2 separate regions of the Homo sapiens genome follow, and region 1 is linked to region 2. Evidence: promoter capture Hi-C in human tissues and cell types (Jung and others, 2019). All regions are on one chromosome and are shown on one strand. The core of a region is centred on a gene start or on the middle of the fragment in contact, and the rest is flanking DNA. Distances in the headings are between cores, read along the strand shown. Region 1 overlaps ERICH3 (glutamate rich 3). Region 2 holds the start of LRRC53 (leucine rich repeat containing 53).

What was found. The method cuts DNA at HindIII sites, captures the fragments that hold promoters and counts their contacts. A contact is called where the count stands out against the background at its distance.
Region 1: a contact is called between a fragment that was not itself captured here and the fragment with the promoter of LRRC53 in region 2, in 2 of the 25 tissues and cell types used here (H1 embryonic stem cells and bladder).

Annotation. Positions count from the first base shown.
Region 1 is chr1:74,601,659-74,607,763 of GRCh38, forward strand. ERICH3 (glutamate rich 3) reads right to left here. Exons shown (of 15, transcript NM_001002912.5): 10 at 4,943-5,244. The region is part of intron 1 of ERICH3-AS1 (ERICH3 antisense RNA 1); the gene reads left to right. Among named protein-coding and RNA genes, the nearest start is that of ERICH3-AS1, 27 kb to the left of the region's middle. The HindIII fragment of the contact is 3,324 bases long and covers 613-3,936 here.
Region 2 is chr1:74,510,189-74,517,038 of GRCh38, forward strand. LRRC53 (leucine rich repeat containing 53) reads right to left here and starts at 2,423. Exons shown (of 5, transcript NM_001382280.1): 1 at 2,338-2,423. The region is part of intron 25 of FPGT-TNNI3K (FPGT-TNNI3K readthrough); the gene reads left to right. All of the region lies in intron 23 of TNNI3K (TNNI3 interacting kinase), which reads left to right. The HindIII fragment of the contact is 11,973 bases long and covers 1-5,539 here.

The DNA.
Region 1 (6,105 bases), core at 1,025-3,524, 91 kb after region 2:
TATCACACTACAGGAGTTTGCTACTGACCATAAGATAAGCAGAGGGCCAGAGAGAATATGAGTGGATTGCTGCAATTCCATCCATAGTGTTACATAGTAGTGAAATGTCAAGGTTTGGGAATCAGGCATTCATGTGCCCAAGACCCAGTTAAAACACTTACTGACTATGTGACCGTGGGCAATTTGTCTTTAAGCTTCAGTTTCTCCATCTGTAACATGGGTAATACAACGCTATGGTGAGTATTGAGAACAATAATCCCTGGAACATGCTTAGCACAGTGCCATGAATATCAGGGGCATAATAAATATTATGGATTAGTAGTAATCGTCCTTGTGATTGGGTAGTGAAGGGAGTAGATTATAGAACAGGAGAAATCACACACGATATGTACTCCTTTGACAGCAACACACTTTAGTGGAGGCACCTGATTAAAATCAGAGCAGTACAAGTGTCCACAATTAGGACACAATTACAGTTATATAATTGAGGCACAGCACAAAAGTGAAGGAACACGAAGTGAACCACAAGAACAGTCCCAGCATCGTATTTTGTGTTTTCTCTCAAATATGAAAGTCAAGGCTGCCCTGGCTTTATTCTATCCCTGCTATCATCACATTTAAGTATTAGCTTTCTGTTAACCACAAACCTTCCAAACTGTCATTATAGCTCAAAGCACACCACCTTTGTGTCATCTACTCATGTTTTTGATACGAATAAGCCAGCGACATGCTTTCTAAAATCTTTTACATAATTTCTTCTGTTCTCCCATCCCATTTGCCTTCTTCTAGAGAATTTAATTAGCTTGTTGTTTACCATCCCCACTAATGAGGACGTGAGTCAACACGGGGTCAACATCAATCTAGCCACAACCTTCTCTTGCTGACCTTGATTCAAACTTCTTGCTGTCCTTACATCAGCGACTATTATGCAGAGAGCTAAACCCTTGCGGCTGTGGCTGCATTTTTAAAAAAGGAAATGGACATTTAAAGTCCATTAACTAGCCAACACAGAAGAAAGAATTCAGGAAAAGCTTTATCATAGGTATCATGAGTATAAAGTACATCACTCATAGCACTAGTTATGTTGGTTTAAGAAAAAAAAAGAAAATGAAAAGCTTTCATTGAACATGACTTTCATAAACCACCATGCTTCAAAGTTAAAACACATGAAAACACATCCTATTTGTTCATACCTCTGTGATTACTATTGCTGCAGATATATTAAAATTCTCATCCCAAGATAAGACAAAGACTAGAAGAGATTGTGAAGAATGGTGAGCTGGTAAAAGTGCTCTAAGTGAAATCTTTTGTAAAAGATTCACTTTAGTCAGTAATAATCAAACATGAAGTCTAGTGCTATAACAGCCCTGTAATTATTCTCTTGGATTTCTGAAACACTTGGGCAGCAAAAATATGAGGTGGGGAAGAAGATACCTAGAAGTTGTCCCTTTCCCGAAGCCAGCCCTTCCACAGGTACCCCAACCCATGGTTATTGTGCCCCCTATCCAAGCTTTGTCTCTTGAGTATGAGGGACACAAAGCAGCTCTCCCTTTCTGATACTTTGGACACACTATCCACAACCATTTAGTGGGTAGGCTAACTTGTACAGAATAGAAGGTTGTATAGTGTTTGAAAGATTGAGCTTTGGAATTAGACAAACCTGGGTGCAAATTCTTATTCTGCTACTTTCTTTTTGTGTATCTAAGCCTCAATTTCCCAGCCTGTAAAATTGAAGTAGTAATAATACCTATCATGTTGAATGGTGAGGATAAAATGAGACAGTGTGTGCACAGTGCCTAGTTTGGTGCTCAGTGCTTGGCACTTTCATTATTGTTGTTATTGCTGCTTTAGGTATAAGCATATACAGGCATACCTATATACACATGTAAGTATATACAAGCATACCTAGATCTGTGAATGTATACCTATATATATATTCGATATACAGGTATACCTCAGGGATATTGCAGGTTCAGTTCCAGGCCATTGCAATAAAGATAGTGATATAAATTTTTTGGTTTCCCAGTGCATCCAAAATTATGTTTCTACTATGCTGCTGTCTGTTGAATATACAATAGCATTATATCTAAAAACCCAATGTATACACCTTAACTAAAATCACTTTATTGATAAAAGATGCTAACAATCATCTGAGCCTTAACTGGTCATCGTCTTTTTGCTGGTGGAGGATATTCCCTTGATGTTAGTGGCTCCTGACTGATCGGGGTGGTGGTTGCTGATGGCTGGGGTGGCTATGGAAATTTCTTAAAATAAGACAACAATAAAGTTTGCCACATCTATTGACTCTTCCTTTCACGAAGATTTATCTGTAGCATGCAATGCTGTTTAACAGCATTTACACACAGTAAAACCTCTTTTAAAATTGGGCTCAATCCTCTCAAATCCTGCCACTCCTTTATCAACTAATACATTTTATACATATTCTAAATTCTTTGTTGTCATTTCAACAATGTTCATGGCATCTTCAGCAAGAGTAGATTTCATCTCAGGAAACTTCTTTCTCTGTTCATCCCTAAGAAGCAACTCCTTATCTATTCAAGTTTTATAATGAGATTGCAAAAATTCAATCTCATCTTAGGCCCCACTTCTAATTCTCTTGCTATTTCTACCACATCTGCAATTACTTCCTCCACCAAAGGCTTGAACTCCTCAAAGCCACCTGTGAGGAATAAAATCACCTTCTTTCAAACTCCTGTTCATGTTGATATTTTTACCTCCTTCCATGAATCATGAATGTTCTTAATGGCATCTAGAATTGTGAATCCTTTCCAGAAAGTTCCCAATTGAATTTGCCCTGATCCATCAGAGGAATCACTATATATGGCAGCTATAGCCTTACAAAATATATTCCTTAAAGAATAAGATCTAAAATTACTCCTTGATCCATAAGGATAACAACAGAATGGATGTTGTGTTAGCAGGCGTGAAAACAACATTATCGCACTGCACATCTTCATCAAAGTTCTTGAGTGACCAGGTACATTGTCAATGAGTGGTAAGATGTTGAAAGAAATCTTTTTCCCTGAGCAGTAGGTCTCAACAGTGGGCTGAAAATACTCTGCAAACCATGCTGTAAATAGATGTGCTGTCATCCAGGCTTTGTTTGTTTCATTTATAGAGCAGAAGCAGATAAAATTTAGCATAAGGCTTAAGGGCCCTAGGATTTTTTGAATGCTAAATGAGCATTGGCTTCATCATGAACTCACCAGCTGCATTAACCCATAAAAGAAGAGTCAGCCTATCCTTTGAAGCTTTGAAGTCAGGTGTTGACTTCTCCTTTCTAGCTATGAATGTCCTAGATGGCATCTTTTTCCAATGTAAGGCTTTTTCATCTACACTGAAGACCTGCTGTTTAATGTAGCTACATTTATAAATGATCTTCGCTAGGTCTTCTGGATAAAATTGCAGCAGCTCCTACATAAGCACTTGCTACTTCACCTTGCAATTTCATGCTATGGAAATGACTTCTTTCTTTAACCCTCACGAACCAACCTCTGCTAGCTTCATACTTTTCTCCTGCACCTTCTTCACCTCTCTCAGCCTTCATAGAATTGAAGAGAATTAGGGCCTTGCTCTGACTTAAGCTTTGGCTTATGAGAATGTTGTGGCTAGTTAGATCTTCTATTGAGACCGCTAAAATACTCTATATATCAGCAATAACGATTTCTTTTTTATCATGCACATGTTCACTTGAAGTAGCACTCTTAACTTCCTTCAGGAACTTTTCTTTTGCATTCACAACTTGGCTAACTGCTTGGCACAAGTGGCCTAGCTTTTAGCCTGTCTTGGCTTTTGATATGCCTTCCTCACTAAGCCTAATCGTTTTTTTTTTATTTAAAGTGAAAAACATGAGACTCTTCCTTTCACTTGAACATTTAGAGTGTATTATGTAGGGTTATTAATTAACCTAATTTCAATACTGTTGTGGGTTAGGGAACAGAGAAGACCAAGCAGAGGGAGAGAGACTGGAGAACAGCTGGTCAGTGGAGCAGTCAGAAAATTGATTAACTTCACTTTCTTACATGGTACAGCTCATGGCACCCCAAAACAATTGCAATAGTAACAACACAGATCACTGATCACAGATCACCATGACAGATATCATAATAATGAAAAAGTTAGAAATATTGAGAAAATTTGAAACAGAGATGAAGTGAGCACATGCTGTTGGAAAAATGATGCTGATAGACTTTGGTGCAGGGTTGCCACAAACTTTTAATTTATAAAAAGTGCTATATTTGCAAAGCTTGCACAATAAAGTGAGCACAATAAAATGAGATGTGCCTGCATATATATGTGTGTATGTATATATATGAATGCGCGTGTGTCTGTGTGTGTGTGTGGGTGGGTGGGTGGGTGTATGTGTATGGAGAGAGGGAGACAGAGAAGCAGTGGAAGGCAGGAGAGAGGAAGGAGAGAACAGAGAAAAAAGAAGAAAGCAAAAGAAAAAAAGCAGACAGATAGGTTCCACAACCCTAAGCCTATAGTCAACTGCCTTTAGTTATGGCATACTCTATCACCATATAATCATATAGGTTGTACCTACCTGATGTCAAAGCAATTCATCAATTTCATGAAAAACAGTACATTCAAAAACTTTTAAAATAGGTAAAATTCTATTTGGTGAAAATGGTCTCTGCAGAAGTCAATAGAGTCTCTAACTCACATTGACATGTACTCATTCTCTCTCCTCATCTCTGCAGCCAGAACCTTTAACCTTTCTGGGGCTAGGTCTGCCTTCCTCTAAGGTAGGTGACACAGGACTCCATACAAAACAGCAAAGGAAGGAGGTCAGGGGCACCCCACATGTAACACAGCTGGGTAACATTTAATGGGTATTTTTGAAAATTTTGATCATCACATTTCAAAGACAAACGAAACAGCCACAGCTACAACAAAAGAAACTTGTGTTGTTGATTACCATATTTTAAAGTATTTTCCTGGTCGTCTTCCAAGACTTCTTGTCCTGGTTTTCCTTTACTTGTCATTTCCTCCACAGCAGTTACCACTTCTTTGAGCCCTGTTTTTATTTCTTGAGCTGAAAATTTGGCTGAAACAGAGGTTTTGTTCTCCTTGATCTCATTTCTTTTTGGTATCACATACTCTCTCTCTTTCCTCACTTTCCCCTCAGCCTTCTTCAGTTCCTCTCCTTTCTCAGTGCTCTTTTCTTTCCTAGATTTCGGCAAAGACGGTTTTTTGTCAAGGCCCATTGCAATAATGCACCTATGAAAAATATTAGCAGGAAGTGTTTGTTAACCCTTGTAGACAGCACAATGGAACCTCAAAGCTTTTGAAAGCACTTATCTCTTATTCCAGTAAAAAAAGACACAAAAATGTTTTGATTACAGTACACACTAATAAAAATAAACAATTAAAAAAGCTAATTAAAAATAAACTATTCTTTTTTGATACTAAAATCTTGTAAACAAACAACAAATTCTTAATAACGTTATCCACAATAATAAACAAAATAAAATAACTCGTCAACCAAGAACTATAGTTTCAAACTAAAATCTGTGTCTTCAAGTATATTTTTGGTCCTGAACAGTAACACATATCATAGATACAGAAATATAGGTGGGTATATAATTTTTCATACATAAAGACATATCTCAAGTCCTTAAATGAGAATTTTGTGATAATAGAACATGCAGATTTACAAACATAGAGAAGCTGATATAAAAATGGTCAGAAGAAGCAAGATGCCATTCAGTCTGATAAGTTATATTTTAACAACACAACAACAGTAACAAAAGACTTACAAGATTGGCTCTAAATAAATATGATTGATTTTTTAAAGAAATATATACAGTCAAATGTTGCTGCATCTTTTAAGTGAATAACTCAGGAGTTTGTTCACTTATTTTCATAGAACTGTCATTATTGCTTTTAGAATGGCCTTTTGAAGTCTGCACTACAGTCTTCTGGTGATTTTTGCTGGTAATAAGTTCTTATTCCTCAAAAATGGCAGTAATTTATAGAGGTTATGAAGTCATTCCAAGTCAAATCTGGTGAACCATGCAGATAATCTGAATGCATTATGACATTAAAACTTTTTAAATCAATTATAACAAAAGTAATATG
Region 2 (6,850 bases), core at 1,173-3,672:
GAGGGCAATCAGTTCTCACCTTTTAAAAAGATCTGAGGCCAGGTGCAGTGGCTCACGCCTGTAATCCCAGCACTTTCGGAGGCCGAGGCGGGCAGATCACGAGGTCAGGAGATCGAGACCATCCTGGCTAACATGGTGAAGCCCCGTCTCTACTAAAAATACAAAAAATATTAGCCGGGCATGGTGCCTGGCGCCTGTAGTCCCAGCTACTCAGGAGGCTGAGGCAGGAGAATGGCTTGAACCCGGGAGGTGGAGCTTGCAGAGAGCCGACATCGCGCCACTGCACTCTAGCCTGGGTGACAGAGTGAGACTCCGTCTCAAAAAAGAATAAAATGAGAAAAAAATTATTGAGAGATTGTCAAATCTCTTGAATTTTTAAAAAATTATTGCTCATTAAATTAAACAGCACCTTGTCTATAATTTGTTCAAAACTACCAACTACCAGATCTATGTGTTATACTTTGTTAAATAAACTTCCGTTTCTCTTTGGGAAAGACATATATAGGATCTTGAACAGTATATAAAGTTTAATTAAATATGGCTAGCATTGAAAAGTTCATGGAATTAATCAACTAGCTCACAAATGTGTGTTGATTTCCCTCTAGGTACACAGCACTGTGTCTGCCCCTACCCAGAGAGGCCCAGTATTTTGATAGCTAGTCTTGTATTCTTGTATAAAGAGTTTTAGCAAACTGAATATGCTTTTTTTCTTTTTTGAGACGAAGTCTCACTCTTGTCCCCCAGGCTGGAGTACAATGGTGCGATCTTGGCTCACTGCAACCTCTGCCTCCCAGGTTCAAGTGATTCTCCTGCCTCAGCCTCCCAAGTAGCTGGAATTACAGGCGTCTGCCACCATGCCCAGCTAATGTTTGTATCTTTAGTAGAAACAGAGTTTCACCATGTTGGCCAGGCTGGTCTGGAACTCCTGGTGATCACCTCAGGTGATCCATCCGCCTTGGCCTCCCAAAGTGCTGGGATTACAGGCGTGAGCTACCGTGCCCGGCCTATTTTTTTTTTTTCCGAGATGGAATTTCGCTCTTATTGCCCAGGCTGGAGTGCAATGGTGCGATCTCGGCTCACCACAACCTCTGCCTCCCGGGTTCAAGCAATTCTCGTGCCTCAGGCTCCCGAGTAGCTGGGACTACAGGCACACGTCACTACACCCTGCTAATTTTTGTATTTTTAGTAGAGATAGGGTTTTGCCATGTTGGCCTCGAACTCCTGGTCTCGAACTCCTGACCTCAAGTAATTCACTCTTATTTTCTTTATTTAAAGAATTAACAATATATTACTTACAGGTGGAAAACACAAATGTATGTGTCATTTTCCCTATTACGCTAGCCTCTTCACTGATCTAATTCCATTGGATATGCATTTATCTATCATTTATTAAGCAGCTCTTATATATTGAATCATGTAGTAAATATTGGACACCCAATGATGGATTAGAGATCTCTTCAGTCCTGGGGGAATTCACAGTTTAAGGGAGGAGGTCAGAGAAACACACAGGAAGATAAGTACTGAGCCATGTGTAGGAAGCCCTGTGAGCCTGAGAAGAGTCAAGGTAGGCTTCCCAAAAGCCATCCCGTTTCACTTGAGTTTGGCAGAGTTAACCAAGCAGAGAAAGGAAGAAAGAGTGTACTAGGAAAGGGAAGCAACAGGGACAAAGGCAGGAAAGTGGGAACCTGCACAGTACATTTGGGAACAGCAAAGGGTTGAGTGTGGGTAGAGCAGAAGCTATAGATGAGGATCTAAAGTCAATAGAAGTAGAAATAAAAGAACATGGAGTCAAGTAAGTTCAGTACCCAAGGAAAATCGGAAGGAAGAGGGCAGCTTTCCTTCATGCAGCTTCCCTTCCAGTCACTGAGACCTCAGACTCTTCTCTTCATTCAGGCAGTGAGCATGAAAAGATCTGGATGGGACTGGATATAGCAGCCACCAGTCTTTATTGAAATAGCCCTGGGGCATGACTCGAACCTGTGAGGGACCATAAAGGGGCATGATTTCTGCAGCTGTGTTTACTGTCAGTGATTGTACAGACTCAAACATGGAGCTAGGGATAATATGGTAATCTAGATGAGACATGAGTGACATAGACACAGTAGAGCTCCACCTTGAACCCAAGATTGGCCCCTAGAACTGTGCAAAACAGGCAACACTGCAGGGTGGCTCATGGCACTCAACTATTCCTGCACTGATGACATTCCTGTACTGATGACATCACCCACATGATCATCTGTTTATAAGTCTGTCTCTTTAAATGGTGAGGAAAGAGAAATAAAGGTGTAAAAATCCAGCCATCATAACAAAAACACCAAAAGAAAGAAATTAACTTACCCAAAGGTCTCACAGCTTGTAGTTTGTGAATCTCTACATTAAAAGGTGGATGATGAATCTGAGACCTACTGAGTTAACTGTCCAGCATCTCAGCCATATGCCTTATTCCTCTTTATATGCATCTCCACTCCCACACCACCCCCTCCTGGCTTCATCCTTTAGTGCCTGGAATAACGCCTGGCACATGGTAGTTACTCATCAGAAGTCCACTGAGTGAAAGAACAAACACCTACCACTGACGGGTTGCTATTTATACCATTCTGTCTTCACTGTTGGGAGCTTCATACTGTATTCTTCAAAATGGGCACCCCCTGCAGCATGCCTCACTCTACAAGGAAAACTTCTCTGTTAACAAGCCTTATGATGGGGTCACTATGTGATCACCTAAAGCTGGCCTTTTCTGTCCCTCATCCGGGTAAATGGCTCACCGTGGAAAACTATAGACGACTTTTGCCCTTTCACTAACATTCCTCTTGATAAGACACTTAAAGAGGAAAATAGTCTTGACTCTTTAAAGTTGATGCCAGTTTGGGGCTGTTAACAAAGTCAAGGGATTCTGTTGTTAGAATCAACCTAGCACACAGCTTGCTCAGTCGATACTGTTTCACTGGCCTGAGATTACAGCAGAGGTAGGTGCCTAAGATGAGGAAATGGTTGTGGAGAAAGAGTCCGAATGACCCAGAGGTCCACGTGTGCTTTCCTAGTTCGTTTATTCAGCTGATATTTATTGAGAAATTATACCGGGATGTGGAAATTTACTGAGTCCCTGTCCTTTCATTATTTTAATCCAGTGCACTAGGTGTTCTTATCAGAGTGAGTCCATGAAATGTTGGGGATGCAGGGGCACTGGTAGTAGGAGTTGAGAACCTGATGATGACTGTCTTTGCAATGTTCCCTCAGAAGAAAAGGTTTGTGCAGAAGGCACATCCCACTTCAGACTCCTGCACATCTGCAGAGAACTTTGCATTCTCACTGCAAGAGGAGTTCCTCTTCCTTTCATTTTTCTTCTCTTTGTCTTCCTTTTTTTCTCTATGCCAAACCTAAGCAAATCTGCTTCATCCAGAGGCAGCTGGCGCTACTATGTGGGAGTGTTAAATGTTTAACATCTTGTCACTTGCGTAACTGATGGAGTCATCCTTTTTGTTTCAGAGTTTCATGTTTAGGGGTTGAAAAGCTAGATTGATGAGCATTACCAGAGAGAAATATTTTTTGGAAAGTAAGTGAAGCTGATGACACATTACTTTACAGTTTAGTGAATTTCAGCAAATCTAATTCTATTATCCTGTCAAAGTTTCACAAAAAGGAGACCTGAAAGCATATTTTAGATGAATCTTTAAAGATTTCAAGAAGCCACAACCGCATCTGCAAAGCTCAGATGCATCTGGTGCTGACAGACCTTTGTTTTTCTATAGACTAAGGGGAGTAAATAATCTTCCAAAAACTAATTAAGTAAAGTTATCTTTGGTTGTACAGTGCCTGCCTCTCTCTCCCTTGAAAAGGTTGTCAGCCAGTAAACGATAACTGCGTTTTTCAATTCAAAGGCTATTCGAAGTTTGCATAGCCAAATTTACCCAGGCACACCAAAATAGAAGCTTCCTTTATGAATCATAGAGTCTTGTAATGCAGATTTTATAGAGCATTTAAAGCCAGATCATTTATGTCCTTGTTTATTTTCACAATCAAGTATAAGATACGGTCTAATAAATACATTCTGACCAAAATGCTAGGAGCAATTGTTTTAAAGCGTTTTCACACAATTCTATGTATTTGTCAGAGGCTTACAAGCTGACAAGCTGAAAGCGCTTTGTGATGCTTTTGGCAATTTGTGTGATTGTGTATACACTTGCACAGAAGTTCCTTATCGAGAGGAAGCATTTAAGTAAAAAGGGGAGCATTAATGAAAAGGTCCATTTTAATAGAAATTGCTGTTGTTCTCTACTATCTAACAATTATTCACTTAAGAAGAAAAGTCTTGATAGAATTTATTGAGAACCTACTATGTACTAGTACACATATTATTAATATAATATCCCCAATTATTTGCTAGGTAGATATTATCTCCATTTTGAAGATGGGAAAACTGGTCAAAACAGGAAACATCTTCTGAGATAGTAAGGGGGGAAGCTGGGATTGACTCCAGTCTATCTAATCCCAAAGCCATGTGTGCTCTTTTTAGGACACCATAAGAAATTCTGTTTGGAACTCATGATAAAAAACAAGATCAAGACTGTGGTAAAAATGTGAAGGGGTATTGTGGGTTGAATTGTATCCCCCAAAAAGATATGTTGAAGTCTCAGACCCTGGTACCTCAAAATGTGACCCTATTTGGAAACAGGGTTGTTGCAGATGTGAGAAGTTCATAGGAGTTTATACTGGAGTAGGGTGGGCCCTTAATTCAAGATGACTTGTGTCTTTATAAGAAGAGCACAAAGACACGCAGAAGAATGGCATGTGAAGATGATGGAGGCAGGGACTGAAGTGCTCTACCTAGAAGCCAAGGAATATAAGGATCGTAGCCCTCACCAGAAACTAGGACATGGGCACAGAATTTTCCTCAGAATATTCCTTCAGAAAGAACCAACCTTGCCAACACCTTGACTCTGGACTTTTAACCTGCATAACAGTGAAAGAATACATTTCTGTTGTTTGAAGCCTTCAGGTGTTTGGAACTTTCTTATGGCAGCCCTAGGAAATGAATACAGAGGATGACATAACTTCATAGAGCTTAGGAAGAAAACAAACTCCAGACTGAATGTTAGGTCAGTGCCCTTCCTGAGGGTCATAGTCATGTTATTTTTCCTTCATCATTTGGGACTATGCGGAAAACCCACACCTAACCCAGTATGAGACTTGAAAGACATTTTTTGGTGCTTTGTCAGAAAATAAATATATGGTTAACCAAAGTTAAGGTGAAATTCTAACGTTTTATCATGCCAATACATATAGAAATGATACTAGGAAAGGGTGTGCTATTTGACTGAAGTTTCTCTGATGGTTGCTGTTGGCAACCAGTTTTACAAGAGGCACAAGTCTAATTAGGGCAGAAGTCAGGAAGAGATTGCAAGTAATTGAGGTCAGACATAACTCAGGGTGGGCAGGTGGCTGACATCCGATGTAGTCAAACTAAGGGGATCATGGTTTGAGGTGGGCAGACACAACAGGTGAGGGATGGAGACTGAACACTGATGGAAATAACTAAAAGCTGAATCTGGCAATGACATTCAAGTAGGTCAAAAAATAAGTATGATAAAAGCTAAGGGAAATCTGAGGTTTTTCTCTTCAGAAGCCTAGTCTTCCTAAATTGGCTATTTCTTTAGACTGGAGATCATTAGTTATTAAAAGGACTATACTTACACCTGCCAACCTAATGCCCCATAGTGCCAGTTTACCTCCTGGCTGCCTTCAAGGTTCTGATGTCTGACTCAGTTGAGAAGAAGGGACTTGCCTTTGCAGAAAATGTAAATGGAGAGAGTAGTACTGATGTCTTTAGGAGCCTCACTAGAGGGGAAGGAAAGGACAATCAACTTACTGGTGAAGCCATCTTCTGTGGATCTTTGAGTTGGAACTAGGCTGAGAATGTAGGTCTGAAGTGCAAATCATCCCTGTTCTTATTGATAATAACTCTGGTATTTCAAAATTTTTAAAAATATGGTCATTTATTTCTGTTCTGAAATTTCCCATTAGCCAGGAAAAAAAATTTTGACTAATGTTGAAGACTACTCAATGAATGTTGCTATCCATTTGTTTGTTCACTCATCTGCTCAATCACTATTTACTTGGATGGGGAAGGGATTCATAATTTCTAGATATGTTGCTAAATGATGAAAATAAAGGAAAAATAAGACATGGTTTCTGACTTAAGATGAGAATAGTTGAGTCAGGAAGGCAATATCAAATCCGTACAATACAAGGCATGAGGTGTCACAGTAAAGAGATGAAGTCCTTTTACTGTGGGGCTTAGTATGTGAGAAAAACTGTGAGAAAGAAGTTCATTGTGTGTAGAGCCTGCCTATATGAGGCAGGGAGCAATAGAGGATGAGGCTGGAGAAATAGACCCAGGCCTGCTGCTTGAGACCTGGACCGTGGGACCTTGCTACTATGGGCCATGGGACCTCAACAGTAAGTGGCATGGTCAGCCACGTTTAAAAAGAAGGACATTTCCACAGCTTGGTTGAGGATGGCTTGTATATTCCCCATCACTAATTCCAGCATTATTTCTCCAGTAGTAATAATGAATGTGCCCTCATATAGCCACATTTCCCCAACCCTTATTATAACAAGTTAAGGCAGCTTACTTCTGGGATTTTTCAGTGTTGGAATATTCTACATAGATGAAATGCCCTTATTGCCAGTTCACAAAAATGATATCAACAATTGTTAACTACATGATAGACAGTATTTTCTCCAGCAACCTCTCTACAGAAGTCTAAAAGAAATATTTACAGTCATGCTCCCATGAGCATCATTATGAGAAAACACTGATAGCAATTCAAAAAAATAAAAACAGAAACAT